Linked DNA regions of Homo sapiens: regions 1, 2, 4, 5, 6 and 7 are each linked to region 3. The links are contacts of gene promoters, found by promoter capture Hi-C in blood cells and fetal thymus (Javierre and others, 2016). All regions are on one chromosome and are shown on one strand. The core of a region is centred on a gene start or on the middle of the fragment in contact, and the rest is flanking DNA. Distances in the headings are between cores, read along the strand shown. Region 1 holds the start of MED10 (mediator complex subunit 10). Region 2 has its middle 100 kb from the start of ICE1. Region 3 holds the start of MARCHF6 (membrane associated ring-CH-type finger 6). Region 4 has its middle 18 kb from the start of MED10. Region 5 overlaps SRD5A1 (steroid 5 alpha-reductase 1). Region 6 overlaps NSUN2 (NOP2/Sun RNA methyltransferase 2). Region 7 overlaps LOC101929200 (a long non-coding RNA gene).

What was found. Contacts are between HindIII fragments. The CHiCAGO score rates a contact against its expected background, and 5 or more counts as called.
Region 1: a contact is called between the fragment with the promoter of MED10 here and the fragment with the promoter of MARCHF6 in region 3, in 4 of 17 cell types (non-activated CD4 T cells, activated CD4 T cells, naive CD4 T cells and 1 more). The highest score is 9.6, in non-activated CD4 T cells.
Region 2: a contact is called between a fragment that was not itself captured here and the fragment with the promoter of MARCHF6 in region 3, in 2 of 17 cell types (total CD4 T cells and total CD8 T cells). The highest score is 10.1, in total CD4 T cells.
Region 4: a contact is called between a fragment that was not itself captured here and the fragment with the promoter of MARCHF6 in region 3, in 1 of 17 cell types (non-activated CD4 T cells). The highest score is 5.3, in non-activated CD4 T cells.
Region 5: a contact is called between a fragment that was not itself captured here and the fragment with the promoter of MARCHF6 in region 3, in 1 of 17 cell types (non-activated CD4 T cells). The highest score is 5.5, in non-activated CD4 T cells.
Region 6: a fragment that was not itself captured here is called in contact with the fragment with the promoter of MARCHF6 in region 3 in 1 of 17 cell types (naive CD8 T cells); the score reaches 8.6 in naive CD8 T cells.
Region 7: a fragment that was not itself captured here is called in contact with the fragment with the promoter of MARCHF6 in region 3 in 2 of 17 cell types (naive CD8 T cells and non-activated CD4 T cells); the score reaches 14.0 in naive CD8 T cells.

The regions. Positions count from the first base shown.
Region 1 is chr5:6,376,591-6,379,851 of GRCh38, reverse strand. It overlaps MED10 (mediator complex subunit 10), which reads left to right and starts at 1,305. Exons shown (of 4, transcript NM_032286.3): 1 at 1,305-1,490; 2 at 2,603-2,686. The coding sequence starts at 1,369. RefSeq lists enhancers at 851-1,070, 1,361-1,570. The HindIII fragment of the contact is 6,030 bases long and covers 1-2,954 here.
Region 2 is chr5:5,522,789-5,525,681 of GRCh38, reverse strand. No RefSeq gene overlaps it. Among named protein-coding and RNA genes, the nearest start is that of ICE1, 100 kb to the right of the region's middle. RefSeq lists an enhancer at 2,174-2,453. The HindIII fragment of the contact is 249 bases long and covers 1,240-1,488 here.
Region 3 is chr5:10,351,889-10,355,230 of GRCh38, reverse strand. It overlaps MARCHF6 (membrane associated ring-CH-type finger 6), which reads right to left and starts at 1,536. Exons shown (of 26, transcript NM_005885.4): 1 at 1,314-1,536. The coding sequence starts at 1,332. MARCHF6-DT (MARCHF6 divergent transcript) reads left to right here and starts at 1,174. Exons shown (of 3, transcript NR_183261.1): 1 at 1,174-1,259. RefSeq lists enhancers at 300-871, 1,718-1,977 and silencers at 928-1,397, 1,438-1,577. The HindIII fragment of the contact is 4,878 bases long and covers 129-3,342 here.
Region 4 is chr5:6,358,692-6,362,047 of GRCh38, reverse strand. No RefSeq gene overlaps it. Among named protein-coding and RNA genes, the nearest start is that of MED10, 18 kb to the left of the region's middle. The HindIII fragment of the contact is 1,821 bases long and covers 831-2,651 here.
Region 5 is chr5:6,641,533-6,644,696 of GRCh38, reverse strand. The region is part of intron 1 of SRD5A1 (steroid 5 alpha-reductase 1); the gene reads right to left. Among named protein-coding and RNA genes, the nearest start is that of SRD5A1, 9.7 kb to the right of the region's middle. The HindIII fragment of the contact is 4,943 bases long and covers 1-3,164 here.
Region 6 is chr5:6,620,093-6,623,304 of GRCh38, reverse strand. It overlaps NSUN2 (NOP2/Sun RNA methyltransferase 2), which reads left to right. Exons shown (of 19, transcript NM_017755.6): 5 at 20-91; 6 at 1,205-1,289; 7 at 3,007-3,199. Among named protein-coding and RNA genes, the nearest start is that of NSUN2, 11 kb to the left of the region's middle. The HindIII fragment of the contact is 4,178 bases long and covers 1-3,212 here.
Region 7 is chr5:5,416,415-5,419,489 of GRCh38, reverse strand. All of the region lies in intron 2 of LOC101929200 (a long non-coding RNA gene), which reads left to right. Among named protein-coding and RNA genes, the nearest start is that of ICE1, 4.7 kb to the left of the region's middle. RefSeq lists an enhancer at 138-207. The HindIII fragment of the contact is 1,560 bases long and covers 538-2,097 here.

The DNA of each region.
Region 1 (3,261 bases), core at 56-2,555, 4.0 Mb after region 3:
TCTATCTTTCTTACTTATGAAATTGAGAAAGGCCGTTCACTCCATGTCGCTACCTCTACCTAATAACTTAAAATTTTTTATTTGTCTAATATTTTATTTCCACCTTTTTTTTTTTTTTTTGAGTCTTGCTCTGTTGCCCAGGCTGGAGTGCAGTGGCATGATCTCGGCTTACTGCAACCTCTGCCTCCTGGGTTCAAGCAATTCTCCTGTCTCAGCCTCCCAAGTAGCTGGGACTACAGGCGCACACCACCATGTCTGACTAATTTTTGTATTTTTAGTAGAGACAGGGTTTCTCCATATTGGTCAGGTCGGTCTCGAACTCCTCACCTCAGGTAATCCACCTGCCTTGGCCTTCCAAAGTTCTGGGATTACAGGCCTGAGCCACCACGCCCAGCCTCCATCTTGTTTTATAATTCCCTAAAGTTAATTGTTGTTAAATCAGGAGAGAAGTATTTTATGTAACATTTCTGTTTATCAGCCCAGCCCACCAACTGGAGTGCCCTGATTCCATAAGTTTGGCAAGTCACTTACCTTCTCTGGCTTTCCATTTCTGGTCACAGCTGGGAGAGGCTCTGAAGATCATCTAGCAAAGGAGCTCCCTCACTTTGCCTGTTTCTAGGCACTGAAAAGTACAGGCCACAAATATATTCAGTAAAATAAATCACTTGAGAAATTCAAACAGGCTAGAGGAGATATCCGCTATCATAGGAGATCGGGCAGAAAAGTTTCTTAAACATAAGAGTGAAATGACCTAAACTGAATTTCAATGAGATAAACAGCAGTTTACTAAGACAGGGCAACCCCACAGGGTGCTGTTTGGTCAGAATTGGCCCGAGGAGGTGAGACCCTGACCTACGAAGGCAGCAGGTGTCCGGGAAGCATGGTTAGCAGCAAGAGCTAGGGGAGGTGGCCGCCGATTACATAGAAGAAAGGAGGCAGGCAGGCGCTGATCCCAGGGGTTCTGGTAGAGGGGCAGGGAAACTACCGTTATTGGTCCTTCATGCAAACTTTAGGATTTTCATCCATGTGTGTATTGCTTGAAGATGCTGCATTGCAGAAAGTCTTCAACTTCTCCCATGACCGAGGCAGGTCTGATGAGAGTGCAAACAGTTAGTACTCGCCCAGCTGCGCGCCGAGGCCTCCTCCAGAATCCAGACCGCATCCCCGAAAGCCCGCCCTGCCCCGCACTTAGGCCCCGCCCCAACACGCCCGTCCCGATAACGAGGCTCCGCCCCCAAGAGCTCGCCCGCGCTCCCCCAGAGGAAACGGAAGTCGTATCTGTCCGGACGGAAGCAGGAAGCGGGAGCGTAGGGCCACGCCTGCGGCGCTGCTGGTTGAGGCTGTGTGGGTCGGGGACGGGCCGAGGCGATGGCGGAGAAGTTTGACCACCTAGAGGAGCACCTGGAGAAGTTCGTGGAGAACATTCGGCAGCTCGGCATCATCGTCAGTGACTTCCAGCCCAGCAGCCAGGCCGGGCTCAACCAAAAGCTGTGAGTGGCGGCCCGAGGCTGCCGGGGTCTCCCCAGGGCCTGGCCGGGAAGCGTGTGCTAGGGGAGCGGGGATCTAGGGAGCCCGAGCCGAGCCTGACCGCTACTCGTGCCCCGCCAGCCCTCTGGTCTGGTCCCGGAGCCCGGGGCGCCTTTCCTGGCTGTGTTCAGAGGGCGGGGCCCGCGCTCCAGCCTGTTGCCAAGAGCCAACCTCTTTGAGGCCCCTTTGGAGACGTCGTCATGGCCAGATGATATACTTTACGTTTCCCTATCAAGGGAATCATGCTTTCTCTTCTAGCGTCTCCCCTCTCATGTGTAACCCCCTCCCAGCCTTTTCCTCCTGGAGCCCTTCTGGGAATTCAGTCCCTGTCTCCAGAGGGGAGGCAGGCTCCACAGTGAGTGCACGCCCTAAACTAGGCCTCAGAAGGTGAGGCTCCGAAGCCACCTGCCGCATAGGCCTGACAGTGGAGGAAATAGCGGGGAGGTGGTGCTGAGAAAGGTTGCAGAACGTTTATTATTATTATTTCTTGGCAACAGCCTTGTGCTGCCCATGTTGCTAGGCCCTGGGTTGGAGAAAAGGCAAATGCAAGTACAGCACTTTCGAGAAGGGCTTTATATGTGGCACGGACATAGAAAATGTTGCACTCGAGGTTCCATACCTAGTGCTGTGGGAATAGCCAGACCAGCCTGATGCTGTAGGAAGGCTCCAGAGAGGAGAGGAAGCTAAACCAGACAGTATGGCTTTCTTTCCCTCAGACTTTGAGTATAGTCCGCTGCCTCATGTGTTCGCTGAAACCGCACACACAGTCATATGCACAGTCAGGTAATTGTTTTTGAGAGAAGGTTCATATTTTTCATCAGGTTCCCTCTCCATCCCCCTTACTGGCAATTTCTAGTTGAGAAGGAAAGTAACAAATATTTAAGGGTATTTTGTAACTCTAACGGTGTCCTAGGAATCCTGTAGCTAACCAAAGAGGTCAGAACCGTGTGTAACCCGCATAGCTGTGAGGAGAACGAACTTGCGTGGAGCCCCGGTTGGCTGGGTAGCTCTGTGGGTGGTGCTTATGCTGTCAAGCGAAATTAACCAGATGCCTGTGTGTTTGCCTTTCCCCCAGGAATTTTATTGTTACTGGCTTACAGGATATTGACAAGTGCAGACAGCAGCTTCATGATATTACTGTACCGTTAGAAGTTTTTGAGTAAGTAACATTCTTGATATTAGTCTTGGGTATAAATCTTGTTCAGTTATGGTGTGGTATCGTGACTTCTTCATCACTGGCATTCGAGTGCCTGCTGTGTGGTAGGCACAGCCTGGGTGCTGGGGATGTGCCAGTGGAAAAAAAAATAGACAAAAATACAAAAATACCTGCCCTTATGGAACTTCCGTTCTAATGGCATTACAAAACGAAAAAAAAGAATATCCTTAATATTCTATTGTGGAAAAAAAGTTACATGTAAATAAAAGCTTATTAAATATATGAAATACATCATAGGTCCTCAAAGCCCTGCTTAGGCTAAAGAACAGCCACAAAACTTTCTTTTTTCCTTAAGAGGTGAAAAGTCCTATGAGGGCTATATTGTAAATTTTTAAAAAATGGCAGCCAGAAGCACCTGAAAAGCAAGCTGGTCTGATGTTCCCAAACTGCCCGTGGAGTGCTAGTTCTGAGAGGTGAAAATATCTGCTCTGTCGAAGGAGGAAAGAAAGGGTTCTTATTCCAAGTATGTTTGGGGAGGCTGCTCACTGTTTTCTGTGCGAGAGTTGTGTGCACCTATG
Region 2 (2,893 bases), core at 115-2,614, 4.8 Mb after region 3:
AAGTGAGATTTAGGTGGGGACACAGCACCAAACCACATCAGTTGGCCTTCGAGTTCTTGCTGTCTTGGAAGTTCTCCAAAGTTTTAAACAGATAGATGAGCTTTTTTTTTTTTTCTTTATGTTGTGTTCAGTTTTTCTAATTGTTCCTGGTAGGAAGACTAGTCTTCATTATCTAGTCTCCCATTAGCAGAATTAGAAGTCTCTTCTTAATTGCTTACAGCAATTTTGCAGAGGTTCTCTTATTTGCTTCCAAAGCCCAGCAGTCTGTGGCAAAGATGTAGCAGAAAGACTATCGGAAAAGACATAGGAGAAAAAACTCATTTCACTGGGCAAATGGCAAATGACTTAGTGCATTGTGTTAGTACATTCTCTTAAGAATGTTACTCTTGTGTTAATTTCCTTAACAAACTTTTCTTTGGTTTTGAAACTTCTACCTCTTTCTGGCCAGGTGCTGTGGCTCATGCCTGTAATCCCAGCAGTTTGGGAGGCTGAGGCAGGTGGATCACCTGAGGTCAGGAGTTCGAGACCAGCCTGGCCAACATGGAGAAATCCCATCTTTACTAAAAACACAAAATTAGCCAGACATGGTGGCTCATGCCTGTAATCCCAGCTACTCGGGAGGCTGAGGCAGGAGAATCACTTGAACCCGGGAGGCGGAGGTTGCAGTGAGCCAAGATTGCGCCATTGCACTCCAGCCTGGGCAACAAGAGTGAAACTCCATCTCAAAAAAAAAAAAAAAAAAGAAAGAAATTCTACCCCTTTCTGTCACAGAGGGCCTATAGAGTTAATTTTTTTTTAACTAGGAAATCTCTCTCAGGATACATCCACCAACACATTGTGTTCTTAGAAAATTTCCACTTCTTATGAAAGCATGCCAGGTTACTTAATTATAAGTTTCCAAGTAGTGGTTGGGGCAGAATAAAGGGTTTCAAGATGTACAACCTAACCACAAATGTAATAATGTGTTTTCAGGGGGAAAAAAAAGAATTTTAATTTAAAAAGCAAAATGACAGATTAGAGAAATGTAATCAAGCAAGTCAATCTTACAGACATTTATTTATAATCCATTTCCTCTGGAGATTCAGCTAGGAGCATGAGTAGGAGATGAAACCTTGTTCAGAAGCCACCTGTGCTTGCTCCCTCTGACCCCAGGCTGTGTCTGTGCTCTGGACTCCATCAGTGAGCCTGAGAGGGAAGGTTGGGTCTCAGGGCAAGGAGAAAGGGCAAGAAGGGGAAGCTTTTTGTAAAAAGCAGACAGCGAGGTTGAGGGACTGGCCTCTGTGTGAGTGAACAGAGATGTGCTTGTAGACGTGTGTGGGCAAGGGCGGGGAAGAAGCCAGGGACCCAGTACTTTTTGCAAATACCCTCTGCATAGAGTATTTCAGCTCAATCATATTGAACATCTCTTGGGTCGCCTAAAACATGCTTTCTAAAGCAAATTTACATCCTGTGCCAAATTTAATCTCTTGGTACTGTGTTGAGAAAGCTTCTGAGGCTGAATCAAGGTCCAGGAGAAGGTCACTGTGAAGAATGGGGTCAGCCACAGCCACAGCACAGGGCTTGTGCGTTTGCCACTTCTCTCCTTAGAAGAAGCGTATCATCATAATCATTCCAGAATGTGCTTGGGCATGTCAAAGTACATCGTTACTTTTTCACTTTTTCCCAAAACAACTTCATGATGTAGATAAGACAGGTATTATAAATCCCACTTAACAGGTGAGAAAGCGGCAGCAGGGAATGTAACAGGATTTGTCCACATCATCCACAGGTCCTCAGTAACCGTGTTACAGGAAAGGTTTCTGATCCAGACCCCAAGAGAGGGTTCTTGGATCTCACGCAAGAAAGAATTCAGGGCTATTCCACAGTGCAAAGTCAAAGCAAGTTTATTAGGAAAGTAAAGTGGTGAAAGGACAGCTACTCCATTGAGTAGGATGTTCCTGAAAGTAAGAGGAGGAACACATCCACCCTAGGTACAATGCTTGTATCTATGGGGAGGTGTGCTCTGCTACAAGGATTTGTGATAAAGGATTAATTTTCTTAACTACTGTATTTTGCAAGATTCAATACTCTTATCTTTAAAGCAAAATTAGGAATGCCTTTGATGTCCAGATATCAGGATATCTGGACACTCCCAAGTTTGGGTTTGTTTAGTAAACATTATTAATTTGTCCCCTTAACCTTAAACATCTAGAGCCTCGGAATGCCTAACTTTCTGAGAATGCAGCCTAGCAAGTCTCAGTTTCATTTTCTAGCCCTCACTCAAAATAAAGTCCAGTTTCATTTTCCAGCCCTCACTCAAAATGGAGTCTCAGTTTCATTTTCCAGCCCTCACTCAAAATGGAGTCGCAGTTTCATTTTCCTAGCCCTCACTCAAAATGGAGTCTCAGTTTCCATTTCCTAGCCCTCACCCAAAATGGAGTCACTCTGGTTCTAACACCTATGACAACCGCTGCTGCGATTCCTGCTCAACTTTCCAACGGTTGGAAGAAGGACAAGTCGGTGCCCAGTAATCAGAGAATCATGTTAAACAAATGAACTAGACAAAAATATTTATAGCATTGCTCTCAAAAAAACACAATGAATGCTCCCAACAGAAATGATCCTGTCCACTCATGATAAAAAATTAAACATGTCATTCAGAATATTTTATAAAACATAAGTAAAAGATAAAGTTATGAATGGTTATGAATATAGATTAACTTAATATTAGAAGTGGACTTAACATAAGTAGTTAATGTTGCAAGCATATGAAGAAATAAAAGATGCCATCATCATTGAAAACTTTAGCTGCTAATCATTGTGCCTATCGAAAAAGAAGGCAGGAAAAAGGGAGTTTAATTCAGTTAAACAAACATTTGCTTGAGCCCTATACTAACTGTATAGAATATCATTT
Region 3 (3,342 bases), core at 287-2,786:
AGGCGTCTCCAGTGGCGATTAGCTACACTCAGTGTATATAATAAACACACTGTGGCATAATGAAAGGGAAATTACTTGCAATCAGAATGCCTAGGTTCAAATCTGCCTCTTACTACCTGTGTAAAGCTTCGACAAGCTATTAAAATAACGAAGCCTACATTTCCACATCTATAAAAGATAATACCTACCTATTCCACAGGCTTTTTACGAAGATGGAACGCGAATGTACATCAAGTGCCACATGTTATAGTTGAGGTATTTATTAAAGGCAAGACTTCTTTAAAAAAAAATAAGTCGTTATCAACTCATTACATAGATAATATCAAACTTTTTTCACTCATTATTGCACTCCATGACGGCGTTTGATAATTCATTTTCGTTTAAAATCGCCAAAATCGCAACCCATAAGGTTGAAAGACGCTCATACCCCCATAAATATACCTAAAGTAGAAAAGCATTTGCACGATAACCGGAACATCAAAAAAAGCAAAATTTAGTAATTTCCTCTATAAACTCACCACTCATTTAAAAACACAGCTGGTTAAAAATAATCTACTACCTTCAGTGGGTAAGAAAATGCGTTTGAAGAGACATAAGGTGTGGACGTTTATATCTTAAGTATTCATTTTACAAGGGTCAGTTTGTTCAATGTAACCGTATCCAAAACACAAGCAATCGCAAAACAAAACAAACAGAACCCTGCTTATAGGTGTCAAGGATTTAAAACCAAATGGATCGCAACAAAAGAGCCTCCCCGTTTAGTAAACAGATTCTCGAGCGGCAGGCAAGCCGAGGACCAGGCTTTTCAACAGGGGTCAGCTCACTCCACTCGGCCGTCATCTGGCGGGGTATTTTTCGCGAAGTTTCAAAGTCAACAAAGAAGTTCTGTCGCGAGGGGGTAGGGCCTGGCGAGCAATAGGCAGAAGGACGTAAAGAAAGACAAAACCCAGTGGGGGAAGGGTGCGGAAAACGCCCCCGGACGGCAGCGACAGAGGCCCCCTTTTCTGGGCCAGCGCGCGACGGCGGGGACAAGGGAGGCCACGCCGGCCTGCAGTAGCCCCGAGGCCCCGACCCCGGCCCCGGCCCCTGCCCGGCAGGGTCCCCGCCCCCCTCGGCGGCGCGGGCGGGAAACGGCGGGGGGCGCGCAGAGGGTCACCTTCCGCTCCCCGGCCCAGAGGCCCAGCGGGTGGACAAACGGCCCAGGCGTCCGCCCCGCCGCGATCCAGCAGCCCACCTCGAGCGCCGCGGACCTGGCCGGGGTACGAACCCGGGCGCCGACGCAAGGGCTCGGGCGCCGCGCGTCGCCGACTTACCTTCCTCCGCGGTGTCCATCTTGTCTGGGGGGGCGGCGGTGACGCAGCCACGAGGCTCCCGCGGCCGGGCGGGGAAAGAGGGAGGGGAGAGGAGGAGGGAGCCGGGCCCGGGCAGGTGCGTACGCTCAGGTGCGAGAGAGGAAGCGAGAGGAAGGAGAGGGGAGAGGGAGAGGGAGAGAGGCTGACAGAAAGCGAGCGACACGGGAGGGGGAGGGGCGGGAACACCTAGGGGCGAGGCCTGGGCGGGGCGCCGAGGCGGAAGGGGCGGGAGCTCCCCAACGACAGGCGCTGTCACTTCCGGCGGCCGCGGCGTGCACTGTCGGTCGGCGGCTAAGGAGGGGAGGCACCTGCATCTGGGGCGCGGCGAATCCTCGCGTGCGCCAGGCCGCCTGGGGTAGTCGCCGAGACTGCGCCGGCCAGCGGGGCCGAAACCTAATCAGGAGCTGAGCTTTGATGGCGGCTTCTGGAGGGACAAAGAAGGCGCAGAGCGGTGGGAGGAGGCTGCGAGAACCTAGCTCCCGCCCCAGCCGACGTGCGAGACAAAGGCCCCGGCGCGGGGCTCTTCGGAAGGCCGGGAGGTTCCTGTGACAATGCGAGTCTGCGCCCCACGCTCCCGCACCGTGATGCCGAGGCCAAATGGCTAGAGTGGGCCCAGGCATCAGCATTTCTGTTTGGCAGCCGGGCAGTTGTGGTGCACGTTTTGAGGAACTACTAAAGCCTGCCTGTGATGAAAAAGGCAAAAGCTGACTTCACCAAAATTACTCCCAGGGAGACTTCTGCATTTGGCTGGAAGGACATTTGAGTAAACCGCTGAGGCTGGTGGTTGAAACATAATCCTCTAAGGGAGATCGGTTCCGATACCCTGAGTTAGGGACGCTTGCCTGGGCAGAGCTAAGGGGAGAATGATCAAAAGCCAAGCTCTGTCCCCGTCAGCACGTCACCCTCCCTCACTGTAATCCCTGACTGTTTTCTCTAAATGAAGAATTATTTAGAGAATATAAATTAGAAGGGCCGCCACGTCAGAATTGCCTGAGTGGGAGCAGTCTTTCCAGCCTCGAAAAATGTTTAAACAATATGCAGATGACCTAGCACAAATAAAGAATGCTAGCAACCGCTGTTATGTGTGAGCGGTGGAATTGGGAGGGCTCTTCCCCCAATCTTCATCAAACAGAGTAAGGTTTAGAATAAAAATAATGAAATACAGTCTTTCAAAAAGAGCAGCGCTTGACTAATGTTACTGATGTCACTCATGTTACTCAAGGGAGGAAAGAACTCAAACTCTACATAATAATACCCACTGATTTCAAGGGCTGGCACGGAGAATTAAGCAGACCGCCATTCTTTATATTTGTTTTTTTGTTGTTGTTTGCTTATGATTTTTTTCTTTCTTTTTTTTTTTTTTTTTTTGAGAAGGGGTCTCGCACTGTCACCCAGGCAGGAATGCAGTGGCGCGATAATGGCTCACTGCAATCTCACTATATTGACCAGTATGATTTTCAACTCCTGTCTTTAAGCGATCCTCACGCTTCGGCCTCCCAAAGTGCTGGGGTTACAGACATGTGCCACTATGCCCTGCCTAAATATGTTTATATATACTACCGCCAAAGAAACAATTTGAAGACGATCTTTCCCCAGCCCCTCTCCTTCTGATCCAACTCCAAGAGCTCACCCTCCCTGTAAGACCTGTAGCAGAGCACGTATTGGCCTGCTGATACTAGGGGCAAAGACCGGGCCGATCAGATGTTACATGGCATAAGGGCGAAGGATTCTGAAAGAAAGACTGAGACTTGCTGGAGGAAGTACTAGTAGTGCCAAGGGCAGGTATGTGACCCTCGGAGCTGCAGAGCCAGGTTAGGATGAAGGGAATGTGTGTGTATGGGGGGCGTGGAGGAAGCCTTCCTTTTGTATTTAGGTGCCTTCCCTTGTGATGTTCAAAGGAAAGTTAACCTGTCAACCAGTTTTCCCTTCTGCATAGTAATTCCTTCTGGAATTGCCCTAACCTTTTCGCATTCAGACTTTAGGCGTTAAA
Region 4 (3,356 bases), core at 492-2,991, 4.0 Mb after region 3:
GCTCAGGCGGTCACATGTCCCTTGGTTTTCCTTCATGGCCCTGCCCTCTTCTGCTTGGCACTGGGTCTGCTTGCCTCTCCTTCTGCAGTTGGCTCCTTGGGGTTTTGTGACCACGTTACATTCTACAAAGCCATTTACTGCCCAACAATTAAGGCAGTCATGTAGGAGGAAGGCTGACTGCTAGGATCCCTCTTTCAGTAGGAGGAAGGCTGACTGCTAGGATCCCTCTTTCAGGGGGCTTTTCTGCCTTTGCATTTCTGTTGGGGAATAGTGTTTCCACTTGGGCTTGTGCTAGGATTTTTCATGATGGATTAAAAAGCGTCTCTGTTTTTCCACTATCGTTGAAGTTTTCCAGGTTTTTTTAGGAGTGAGCCATCTTATACAGGATAATAATGTCCATCATACCTTAAAATTTTGAAAATAATTTTACGTAACTTCTCTCCCTTAATTTAAATATGCACCAAAAATAATTATAAACGTATATTTACACATATGTGTTGTATTTATTTTAACTGTGATTGTCCTTTACTGTTTCATGTAGGTTTGCTGCAAATTAGGAAAGGTTCAGCTAAGAATGAGATGCAAAGATAGAAATTAATTTTTCTCCTGCAACAGCAATGCTAAGCTGTCTGCCCAGACAGCAGTAGCTCCTCACAGGCATCAGCCAGGACCCAGGCTCACCTGTCTGCTCTGCCATCCTCAGCATGGGTTCTGTCCTCACATTACAAGATGGCTGCTGCACCTCCAGGCATCACGTTTGCATTCCAGGCAGGAATAACATAGAGGGAGGGCAAAGGCCGACGGGCAAAAAGATTTCTCCTGTGGAAGCTTTGCCATTTTATTCTGGAAGGGCTGTCTTTCTCATGGACTTCTGCTCACATCTCATGGACAAGAACACTGTCGCATGGCCCCCCGCCCCCGATTACGAGGGAGTCGAGTGATCTTAGGTTTAGCTCTTACAGTCCTTAGAACAGAGGCAGGCAGGGGCAGAGAACAGAGGCAGGCAGGGGCAGAGAACTGAGGCAGGCAGGGGCAGAGAACAGAGGCAGGCAGGGGCAGAGAACTGAGGCAGGCAGGGGCAGAGAACAGAGGCAGGCAGGGGCAGAGAACTGAGGCAGGCAGGGGCAGAGGGGACTGACAAGGAATGGGAGCTCTCAGGCAGCCGGCGGGGCCTGCTCTGGCACCTTCAGGATGAGGATGGCCTGGATTTCCATTCACTGGGTGCTCATGTTGGCCCTTTCCTGTAGAAACTTACTTTGTAGGAGTGACTTAAGGCTAAAAATTGAATTTCATGTAAGTAAATTTAAACCCCGGATGCGTCATTGTGAGTTTTCAAGTTTAGTTTATCTGATGAGCGCAAGGCCCAGCACTGCGCCTCAGTCTAGACAGAGTTTGGAATAAGAAGCAGCAGCCATCCACGCGGGGCTGTCTGCAGGCTCCCTCTGGGAGTGCTGAGGAATGGCATGGTTGGTGACAGTGCTCACCAGAGGTTGCGTCCGGGAGCTGCAGAGGAGCTGCTTTGTCCGTCCATGGCCCTGCCCACATCCACGGCTGCTGCCTCCCTGGCTGGCCTCACCTTCGCCTCTGCCTAGAGTAGTCTCAAGTCAGGGCATAGATGCTGGCGGGACCGAGGTAAATAATCCGACTGGAAAAGCAAGCAGGAGTCTTCCCGATTCTCCAGGTGGGAGGATTCCCGAGTCTCAAGCTGGAGTCCTGGGAGGCACAGCCACTGTGAGGTGCCACCTGCAGCCGCAGGCAGATGGGTCAGGGAAGCAGGGCCTCCTCTGCCTGCAGTGGCTGCAGGACTCGTAGGCGTCACCCTCTTTAACGCATCACAGCTAGTTTATTTTCACCTTTTCATGGGCCATCATCTGTTCCTAACCTCCTGTTCCTCTTCTCAAGGTTGGGGGAGGTGGCTCGATGCAAAGACGGCCCCAGGGCCTGCCACATCCTGCCTCCTCCTTCCAGCTCTCTCCCCTCTCCTTCCTGCCCAGCCTTCCTCTTGAAAACGCCCTGAGCCCTTTTCCTGTGCCTTTCTCAGCCACCTGCCTGCAGAGGGGCTGCTGATGAGGAAGAGATGGTCCCTTCCCTGCCTGCGCTCCCGTGCTCACTCTGCGTGTCCACCCCATCAACCCTCCAGGGACGCTTCTTTTTCTCCCAAGATATGTTAGGGGAAGAGGCACGTATTTTAAGGTGCCCTCTGGGCAGTCTCTTTGTGCCCCAGCATTTATTAATTTGCAGCCACATGCAGCCTGGAGTGTCAGAGTCCCAAAGGGATGTTAATACAGTCGTCCACTGATTTAATCAAAAGCAGCAGCTGGGGCCCGGGGTGCGGTCGAGTTATGAAATTAAGACACAGTGCAACACACAGGAGGGCCTTTTATGCAAACTGTTGGTCTGACCACTTAAAAGTTTGGGATGTGAGTGAAAATTGAATGTTCATCCTCAGATGTGTAGCATGCTCCACTGTGAAACTAATTGCATTTCAGTAGCACGTGGAGGCCATTATCATTGCTATTATTAATAACCATTTATTAACTGTGCACAGTGTGAAACCAGAGAGCTTACTCAGCACAGAGCCCTCCATTACAGAAACTGGGCATACACAGGATCGATTTGGACCTGTTTTTTATTGCTGCTCTTGTTAAGCTTAAATAGTCTTTTGTTTGTACAAATGTTATTTTTGTGCAGCGAGCAAAAGCAGATAGCGTACTTAACACTGCTGTTTCGCACACTTGTTTTTCATGGTGAAAAATGTGAATGGTGCAGAGCTTCCAGACCCAGCCTCAGTGTTTTTAACCATGGACATCCTCCCAGGCAGACCAGATGCCCTCTACGCGTAATATTCAGGTTTGTGCTTAGAAAAATACATAGAGGATCGCATTATACACACCCTTCAGGGTTTTGCTTTTTTCGTTTGAAATACCTTTGCAAATCTTTGTCAGCAGGGGCAGGCTGGCAGGCCCGTCGGTGGTGCCCATGGCATGGAGGAGCCGCAATGTGCTTAGACTCTAGGATGCCAGCAGTGCCATGGGGTATGCCATTGTTCATTGTCCTGGACTGGCATCTGTGGAGTCCCTTGGGATTAATTTCTTAAGATGGAATTATGTGTACTTAAATGTTGCTAATTATTACCAAACTGTGACCCAAAAAAGTGTCACCAATCAGCCCTCCCAGAAATGGCACGGGGAAGTGTCTGCTTTGGTTCATCATGTTTCTGAGCTCCCAGCTCTCTGGCCCCCTCTGCAGAGATCGACCACTAAGGCTGTTTATTGAGTTTATTGAGTGTCCTTCTAGACTTTTTATGTATGCCACACTCATAGGCATGCTTATTGTGTCTCTCCTAATTCTCCTCA
Region 5 (3,164 bases), core at 639-3,138, 3.7 Mb after region 3:
CTGCCTCGGCCCATTTGTCAACCAGAACAGGAGGCCTTGTGTTAGACCCGGATGGACAGAATTAATGGCAGAAGACAGAGTGGCTCTCACTCTACCCCTCAGTGTACCAAGCTGAGAAGTACCAAGAGCAAGCAGCCCACTTCTGAAGTCAGCTTAGGAGATTCTCAATGCGGCAAAGAGCAAAAGGGACACCGGTATGAGAAAGTTGAGAGAAAACTTCCCTGAGAGTTACGGCCTCAAGTTATTTCCCACTAGGCAAACTGCAGGATAGAGGTGAGAAAGTGTTCAAATTCTAAGTTTGAGGAAATACAGAAAAAAAGAGCAAGACATAAAAGGGGAATGTAAGGCCTGGATTTGGTTTAGCAAGATGTCTATTAAAATAGAAAGGACTCAGTTCATAAGAGGTCGGGCCTCTGGACCTGAAAAAAATCCATCCTAAATTCAATACTGGATAACAGGAAGGCAAGGTGAAAAAGAGGAAGGGAAAATATTAGCAAGGTTGAAATACACAGAATTGAAAATGGCTTAAGACACTTCTGCATTGGATGTCACCCATTTAAACAATGGACAAATGCAGTGTGAGAGAAGCAACTCCCAGGAAACATTCTGCGTATGTGGTGGACGTTCCCTCTGGCATATCAGAATCACATCCAGCGAACCTTGATCCATTTCTCCCAATTTTCTTCTAAGTTGTGGGTTGAATTCTGACCTGAAAAACGTCAGCTGGCAATGACACTAGAACTGTGTCAAAAGAATATAATAGAGGATAATATTATCAGACTCTGCACTCACCAGCCTATTCCCAACTCACAGAAAAGCACTGGTCAGAAAAACTAGAACATTTAAGGCACAGAGGCCAAGGCAGCAGGATTTCTTCACAAAACAAAGGAAAATGAGGCTGCAACCAAAGTAGGTTATCGGGCGGCTCATTGGTTAGTGAAGCAAGGAAAGCTGTGCATCAACGGTGAGTTAATCAACAGCAGCAACCAAAGAGGCGTGTCCAGAGAATACACACTTGTTTCTCACAATTAGCCTTTTGGGGAGAACACTTGCTAGAGGAGTTAAGGACACTGGGAGCACCCTCAACAGTCTATTTAAGCAAGGCAGGACCAGATGCAGTGGCTCATGCCTGTAATCCCAGCACTTCGGGAGGCCAAGGCAGGTAGATGGCTGTGACTAGCCTGGGCAACATGGCGAAACCCCCTCTCTACAAAAAATATGAAAATTAGCTGGGTGTGGTGGTACATGCCTGTAGTCCCAGCTACTTGGGAGACTGAGGTGGGAGGATCATCAGAGCCTGGGAGGTGGAGGCTGCAATAAGCTGAGGATCATGCCACTGCACTCCAGCTTGGGTGACAGAGTGAGATCCTGTCTCAAAATAATAATTAAAAAAGAAAAAGCAAGGCAGATGATGAGCAGTCTTTGTCGGCTCTGGGTGAGTCTATGGATGTTACTGATATGGCTCAGTTGTTTATTTGAGGAGTTCACATCAAGGCTGAAGTGAATGAAGGGTTAGGCTCTTTAGATAGTCTGTGCAGAACAACTACCGGTGAGAATATTTTCAAAGATGTTGAGAAAACACGAATTTAGTAGAATCCAAAGTGGAATCTGCTAAGCTGTTGCAAATGATGGTGATAAAAATGTATGGGACAAAAAAAAAACAAATTACAAACTTACAAACTTGTAAAAATGTAAGGTGTTTCATGCTATTCCTTGTATCAGCAGGTCTTTTGCAGAAAATCTGTTGTGTGTGATTAAGCCCATAGTGTCAACAGTGAATGACAATCCCTCTCATGGACTCAACTATCATCAGTTCTCTAACTTTTTGTCACAAATAAGCTGACTATGCCGATTTGTCCCACATAAATACACCAGTTTGATGGCTTAATAAAGTTTCATCACATTATTTTGAGCTCAGAGCTGAGACTGAAACTTTTCTGAGCAAGAACTGCCCTCACCACCATTATTGAGTTCTGAAGGGCTTAAGTAGCTTTTACTGCAGACTTGATAATAAATTCAACCTAAAGCTGCAAGGCAAAACAGCACTTGTGCAAAACTCATACTGTGTTAAAGTCATTTTGATGACAACTGCCATTGTTCCAATCACAAGTCATATCAAACTGCGTTCTGTACTTTCCATGCTATTAAAATTAAAAGAAGTGAGCTCTCCATGCTCACATGAGTTTGCAGTGGATATAAATTCTAAGTTTAAATACAGTGTGTGAACCTGGATTTCCATATTTCAAAATCCATTTAGCTGTGCAGTGGAAGAGTTGCCATCTAATCTTCCATAGGAAGATATGAATCTGTAATGTAATACCATATGGAAAGGCAAAGATCAAGAGAAGAATCTAACAGGATTCCATGAGTGCCTTCCAAGTGATGATCATGCTCAATTAAAATCATATACATGTGGACTGATGTCAACGCTTCCATTTATAGAGATAAAATACGTAAAATCTCATGACAGATCAACACTGAGAGGAACATTTACAATAGATGTTGATAATAGGAAACACTAACTTTGAATCCCAATAAGTGAAATGTTATCCCTCACCAAGAAAAGAATTCTATTCTTCTCATTAGACATATATTACAAAAAATGCACTAAGATAATATATTTTGAATTTACCACTGAAACTTTTGTGAAAATGTGTTTTCTCTCATCGTAAATACCTACCCAGTATCTTGGCCCACAAAGCCTAAGATATGCACTACCTGGCTCTTTCCAGAAAAGCCTGCTGACAATTAGTCTGAATTAGCACAAGTGTGTTATATTTTGGAGACATCAACTTGACATCAACTTGCTCAGGGCACTGGTGCTACATGGCTGCAGCTGCTGCGGTCTAGGTTTGGCTGTGCTCTGGGAGTGAGGACGTGCTTCTGCGTAGCTGCATTTTTGAATGACTTCTGCTCTAGCACATGCCCTGGATAAGACATTCACAAAGAACCTCAGGATAAGATTTGTCCCTCTTTTTTGTCTCATGTGAATGTCTGAGAACTGCAAGGACTGGAAACCGAGCCTTACAAAGATCGACACCAGTCTCTTCTGGTGTTCTCTGATTCCTGCCCTGGAAGGGGACACCAGTAACCCTGATGCCTATAGGCCTGTCATAAAACCGCTGAAGTCAACAGAGTGGTGGACAGGGGAGAGGAGGGGAGTG
Region 6 (3,212 bases), core at 608-3,107, 3.7 Mb after region 3:
TTTTTTTTTTTTCCTCAAGGGAAATATTAGTCGTCAAGAAGCTGTTAGCATGATCCCACCACTGCTCCTCAACGTGCGGCCTCATCATAAGGTAGCATATAGCAACTAGAAACGTGGGGGCGGGCAGCTTGTTACCAGTGTCATGCCTGTTTGTTTTGATGAAACCATTTTTTCTTAATATAATTAGTCCTTTTTTTCTTCTTTTCACTTTGGATAGAGAGTGATATGTACGTATCTTAGTTTCTTTTTTTTTTTTTTTTCTTTTTTGTCCTACTTAATTTTTATGGTTTAGAAAATTTTCTCCCCTTTAGTTTTACTGATTTGTTTACCATATGGATTGTCTTCAGTGATGGTGATTGGCTAAATTAGGTTGAAAATGATAGTGAACATGTATTGAGAGCTCATTGTATGGCAAGCATTACTCTGTGCTCTTTTTTCTTTTCTTTTTTTTTTTTTTGAGATGGAGTTTCACTCTTGTTGTCCAGGCTGGAGTGCAGTGGCGCGATCTTGGCTCACTGCAACCTCCGCCTCCTGAGTTCAGGCAATTCTCCTGCCTCAGTCTCCCAAGTAGCCGGGATTACAGGTGCGCACCACCACACCCTGCTAATTTTGTATTTTTAGTAGAGACGGGGTTTCTCCATGTTGGTCAGGCTGGTCTCGAACTCCCGACCTCAGGCGATCCGCCTGCCTTGGCCTTCCAAAGTGCTGGGATTACAGGTGTGAGCCACTGTGCCTGGCCTTGCTCTGTGTTTTTTAGGTGAATTAGTTGGCTTTATCATTCACACAACCCTCTAAGGGCAGATACTGTCACCATCTCCATTTTTCCAGATGAGGAAAAGGAAGCAAGGAGAAGTACTTGAACTGAGGTTACGGAGCTGTTAACTGGCTGAGCTGAGATTTGAGTCTAGGTAGCTCTGTTCCTTAGCATTATGTTTTCATGATTCTTACTTGTTCATCTCTATATTTAGTCTCTCTGGCTTACAGTTTCATTCTCCTCCCATCCTCTTTGGAGACTGTACCTATATCATTCTGTGATTTTGGGGCAGTGTAGAATCCCTAAAAGTAAATTATGTCATGCTATAGACTCTGTAAAGAAGTATATTTAGATCTTGGACTAGAAATTGAAAAACTAGAATTGCTTTAAATTAAATGTAGAATATTTGGTTTTTTAAAAACATGAAACAGTTTCTTGCTTTGTTAATAGATCTTAGATATGTGTGCAGCACCTGGCTCAAAGACCACACAGTTAATTGAAATGCTACATGCCGACATGAATGTCCCCTTTCCAGGTATGCATTGGACTTGTGTTCAAAATGGTAGGAATGCCACTTTGGCAGATTGTAGACAAGGAAAAGACTCTAACTTTGCCTGCTAATTTGGCTCTAAAGTCTCCTATGACAAGCAGTTGGGTTTTCCGTCTACCGGAAGTAGAACTGGACATCTTGCCTACCACCGTCAGTAGTACTCAAACAAACACACTCATACCATGGGGGAGCTTTATTTTAGAATTATGTGTGTTTTCTATAAAAACGAATGGCATTTCTTTTTTTTTTTTTTGAGATGGAGTCTCACTCTGTTGCCCAGGCTGGAGTGCAGTGGCGTGATGTTGGCTCACTGCAAGTTCCACCTCCTGGGTTCACGCCATTCTCCTGCCTCAGCCTCTCGAGTAGCTGGGACTACAGGTGCCCGCCACCATGCCCGGGTAATTTTTTGTATTTTTAGTAGAGACGGGGTTTCACCATGTTAGCCAGGATGGTCTCGATCTCCTGACCTCGTGATCCGCCCGCCTTGGCCTCCCAAAGTGCTGGGATTACAGGTGTGAGCCACCACGCCCGGCTGCAGATGGTGTTTCTTTATCAAGCCTACTTACAGAAGATAGATTTCACTGTTTGAATTTTTAGTAACAATTTCCCCTTTCCCCCACCTTTGTTCATTATTATTACTATTATTATTATTATTATTACTTACTGCCTTACATGAAGGGTAGTAGTGTGTAGTTAAAAGCTACCATCAGACTCCCTGGGTTCAAATCCTAATCGGCAAGTTACTTACAGTGTTAGACATCCCATGTGAAATGGGACGAATCAGTATGTAGCTTGCGAGGTGCTCAGGAAATGTTAGCTGTTATAGTGACACCACGCCCCTTTCTCTTAAGTGGAAACAAATACCCATCGTGATGTTTTAGAGTCAGCTTTCATCTCGTCCTATCTTTGTTCAGGCAAACTTCTCTAGTTCTGTTTTAATAGGCATATTTGTTAGGTCTGTTTTTTGAAATCCTCTTTTTTACATTGTTTAAAGATAATGCCTTGGCTAAAAAGCCTGCTTCACTTTTCCCTGTTTTTAGTTGTTTTCTCCACATTGGCAGTAAAGAGCCTTGGCGTCCCAGTAGCAGCAGGTTCTCCTTTTTGTATTGTGGATGTTTTGCATTTCATACTGTTGTGAAGAGTGGCTTTGATCATACATGTTGTTGGTATATTTGCCTTTTTGCTGGGGGTGTGAGAAGAACCAGAGATGAGCAGAGGTACACCCAGTAGACTTCCCAGCCTGCAGAGCCTCCCGGGAAGAGCTTCCGTGTTCAGGTGCTTGGGGCCCCACCCTAGGAGCCTGACTCACAGTCAGAGCAGGGTCCCGGCTTGTGTTCAGGATTTTGAAACATTTGTAAGGTGATTTTGTTGTTTCTACACCTTTCTCCTCATCTTTTTTTTTTGTAGTTAATCGTTACTAATAACAGAAAAGACATTTTTGGCATGGTAATTGGCACAAAGTGAATAATTGTTGAATAGATGACTTTTGAGGCTTTCAAAATTCGAGTGTCCATAAAATCCATCCAGAGCCACCTGGTTCCTTTTTTTGAACCACTTAACGTAATTCTGGAAAACCTTGACTGTGGGTCTTAAGTTTGGTGGATTGCTGCTTCTCACTGGCTGACCTTTGGAGGTCGCATATTTCAGGATGTGATTCCACTTAGGCTCCATTTCACCTGACACTGCAATTCTGTGCCTTCAGAGGGATTTGTTATTGCGAATGATGTGGACAACAAGCGCTGCTACCTGCTCGTCCATCAAGCCAAGAGGCTGAGCAGCCCCTGCATCATGGTGGTCAACCATGATGCCTCCAGCATACCCAGGCTCCAGATAGATGTGGACGGCAGGAAAGAGATCCTCTTCTATGATCGAATTTTATGTGATGTCCCTTGCAGGTATTTATCTTAT
Region 7 (3,075 bases), core at 68-2,567, 4.9 Mb after region 3:
TTAACCGAACCTTCTTGCTGAGGGGAAAGGCCATCCTCTGGGGCATCCTAGGGTGGAAGGCGTCTTGTGGGAACCACTTTGCTATCCGCCCACACACGTTCCACCAGGCTTAGTCCTAAGCTGTCTTTGCTCCAGTTTTTCTCAACACTCAGGGTTATAGTGGTGGGGTTTCGACTTGTCCTCAGACATCAGCAATTTGCTCACAGCCTCAGCTCTTACCCTCAAAGTGATTTGAAGCCAGAGAGTAAACATGTTGCTTCTTCCTGAAACACTGATGTTACTTAGAAACCGGACAAATAAAATTTAGTTTTGAAACAATTAGTTTGAAATAGAAAGCAAAACTGATATGATTATTAAGCAAAATTTTCTTCAACCTGAGAAAGCTGATTGAGAAAAGTAAAAAAAAAAAAAGCAACATTTGAAAGGACTTTCACAACTCTCACATTGCAGTCGCCCTCTGTAAAGGAGGACAAGCCCACTCTGCCTTGCGGGTTTGTGAACACCTGGCGGCTGTAAGAGTTGGTCACACGAGAAGCTTCTTGTAGCTTCCGGGATCGGAGGAAGAAGGCGGCAGGTGCTCAGAGGTGACAGGTGTTGAGGAGGGGATTCTCTGTAGAGCAGCTGGCAAGGGCATGTCCCACCTAACTCTGAGGAGGGATAGGAAAGGGAGGGACATGTTTCCCCTTCACCTGAGGCCAGTGGGGGGTCTCCTTGGTTTCTAGACCACATCTAGCAGCCATTTCAGTGGATGTATATGTTAATAAATTAAATCAACAGTTGCCTCTCGATGATGCTATATTCCAGAGCTTTGTTTTAATCAGTGCCCCCACGAAGTGAAGCACTCAGAGTCAGATGCTACATGCCCTAGAGTGGTTCCAAGGGAACCGTGGGACAGCTCCAGGAGATGGGTTGGAGGTGACTGAGCCGCATGCTCACCCGCACTGGGATGAGCAGGAGTTCTGCATACTGGATACGGTGGGCATTTCAGTGGGAGCTGCGAGGAAAGCGAGGCTGAGGCAAAGTGAGCAGCCAGAAATAAAACTTTGCTCTTCCATCCCCCATTCAAAGAACTGTAGCTGGATGTCCACAGCTGGAAAGTCCTCACTTTGAACTGTATCCACACAGCACCAGTGGCAGCCACTCACCAAAACTTGTTTCTATTCTGTCTAGTTATTCCCCAGCCTCCCTGCACCTGACATGTGATTAAGTTCTACCAGCCAAACATCAGCAAAAGGGGCCTGGCCCCTAGGGCCTTCCTGTGCTCTTTGTCACTTCCTGCTGACTGGAAGAGGGATGAATCCCAGGACCCTGAGCTGGTGGTTAAGTTACTGTCTCTCGGCCCCACACCTTCCCTTTTATACTCTGCCTTGTGACGTAGGGACTGGGGAGCCACGTGCCACCTCTCCTGCCAGAGTTCTGTTCAGCTGTGCCAACAGATATACACAAGGAAACCAGAAGATAAGAGGTAGGAGAGGGGCCTGTGCCTCCCATTCTGTCCTGTCCGACTCCTGGTCCTGCTAGCGTCTTGCTATCCTTGCTTTCGCACCTGGCAGTGGCAGTTCATGAACAGAGCGGCATACGAATTGGGTCTGCAGTTTCTCTGACACACGCAGAGCCAGCCTCATAGCATCCCCTCGGAGATACCAGCAAAGTTGGTTTCCCAGCTCCACAGAGCCCTGAGTCCAAGAGCAGAGGCCTCAGCACCAGCCCAGAAGGTCCCTTCTTCATATGTCTGAGTGTGATTTCTGGGTGGCAGCTCCTCCACATTTCTGAGTTTTGCTCACTCCTTCCTCCTTCTTTTATTCTCTCCAGCCCAAGGTGTCAGCTGCTTCTTGCGGTGGCTCCTCCTGTGATATTTTAGTGTTTTGCTTTTACCTTTTCTCTCTTAAAATAATCTGGGTGTAATGTGGGTCTCCTGGCTGAGCTCTGCCCCAGTCCTGTGCGGAAGATGCTCTTCCGTCCCAAGGAGCTCGCTGCAGGAGAGAAGCCCACCCCACCAGCCTGTTCTTTGTTCTTGGACTATGACTCAAGCACTTTGGGAAGCCAGGTTACAAAGACTGCATCTTTTTCTCCTGATCCCTTCTCCTACCCCAAGCTTGGAGGGGTCACAAACAAGCTGGTGAATAAGGAAAATGTTGGAACAGAGGAAAAGCCTGTCTTGCCCCATTCCCACCCACCCACACCCATCTTGCTAGCGTCTAAGAACGGCCACCAGCTCCATGGGTAAGAAGCTAAGTTGAAGACAGGAAATAAGTGACAGCACATCACACTGGACTGTGTTGTCTCCGAGTGACTGGAAAGGCTAGGGTGTGTGCCCAAGACTGCATCTGGGGTAAGAAGGAGCCCAGAGGACAAATCCCACAGACAGCAATGATTTAAAAACCAAGACATGGAGGAAGTGACTTTATGATCATCTTCTGCTCAGTACTGCCCTTGCTGAGGCATGTGCAGCCCCTTCTCCTCCTCCTCCTCCTCCCCCTCCTTCCCCCTCCCTCCCCGTCCTCCTTCCCCTCTCCCTCCTCCTCACCCTCCTCCTCCTCTTCCTCTTCATCCTCCTCCTCCTTCTGACTCACCTCCCAATGAATTCCTCAGTTGTTGTGTGTGCCCAGCTCTCATCCTTCACAGTGCACAGCTCCAATCAGCCCCTCTGCAATATTGGGCTTGGCGTGCAAGTGGCACCCCCTTCCATCCTAGGCAGTAAATCCAACCAGTTCTCTAAGGTCCATTCAAGTCCAGTTTCTATGGGAAATGTCCTTGATAGAGTTTTGAATATCAAACTTTTTTGGTTTTTTTTTTTGGTATCATTCTTGGTCCTTCCCTTTTTTTCCTTTGTCTCCTCGCCACATATAAGCAGCATGAGTTCTGTTGGTAAGATAGCTGTCTGCCTGTCCCACCACAGCCATCATGGTCGCTGCCATCCCTGGCAGCCGGTTCTGTCCTGGGTCCTGCGAGGAGCATCTCCCTGCAGCACGATGCCTGCATGTGCCCCTGTTCTCCCACTTGCTAGGACCGAAAACTGAGGAGTTTGTCTGACTCCTCTTTACTCCCACGCCCTGTCACGGGGTCAGCCAGCCA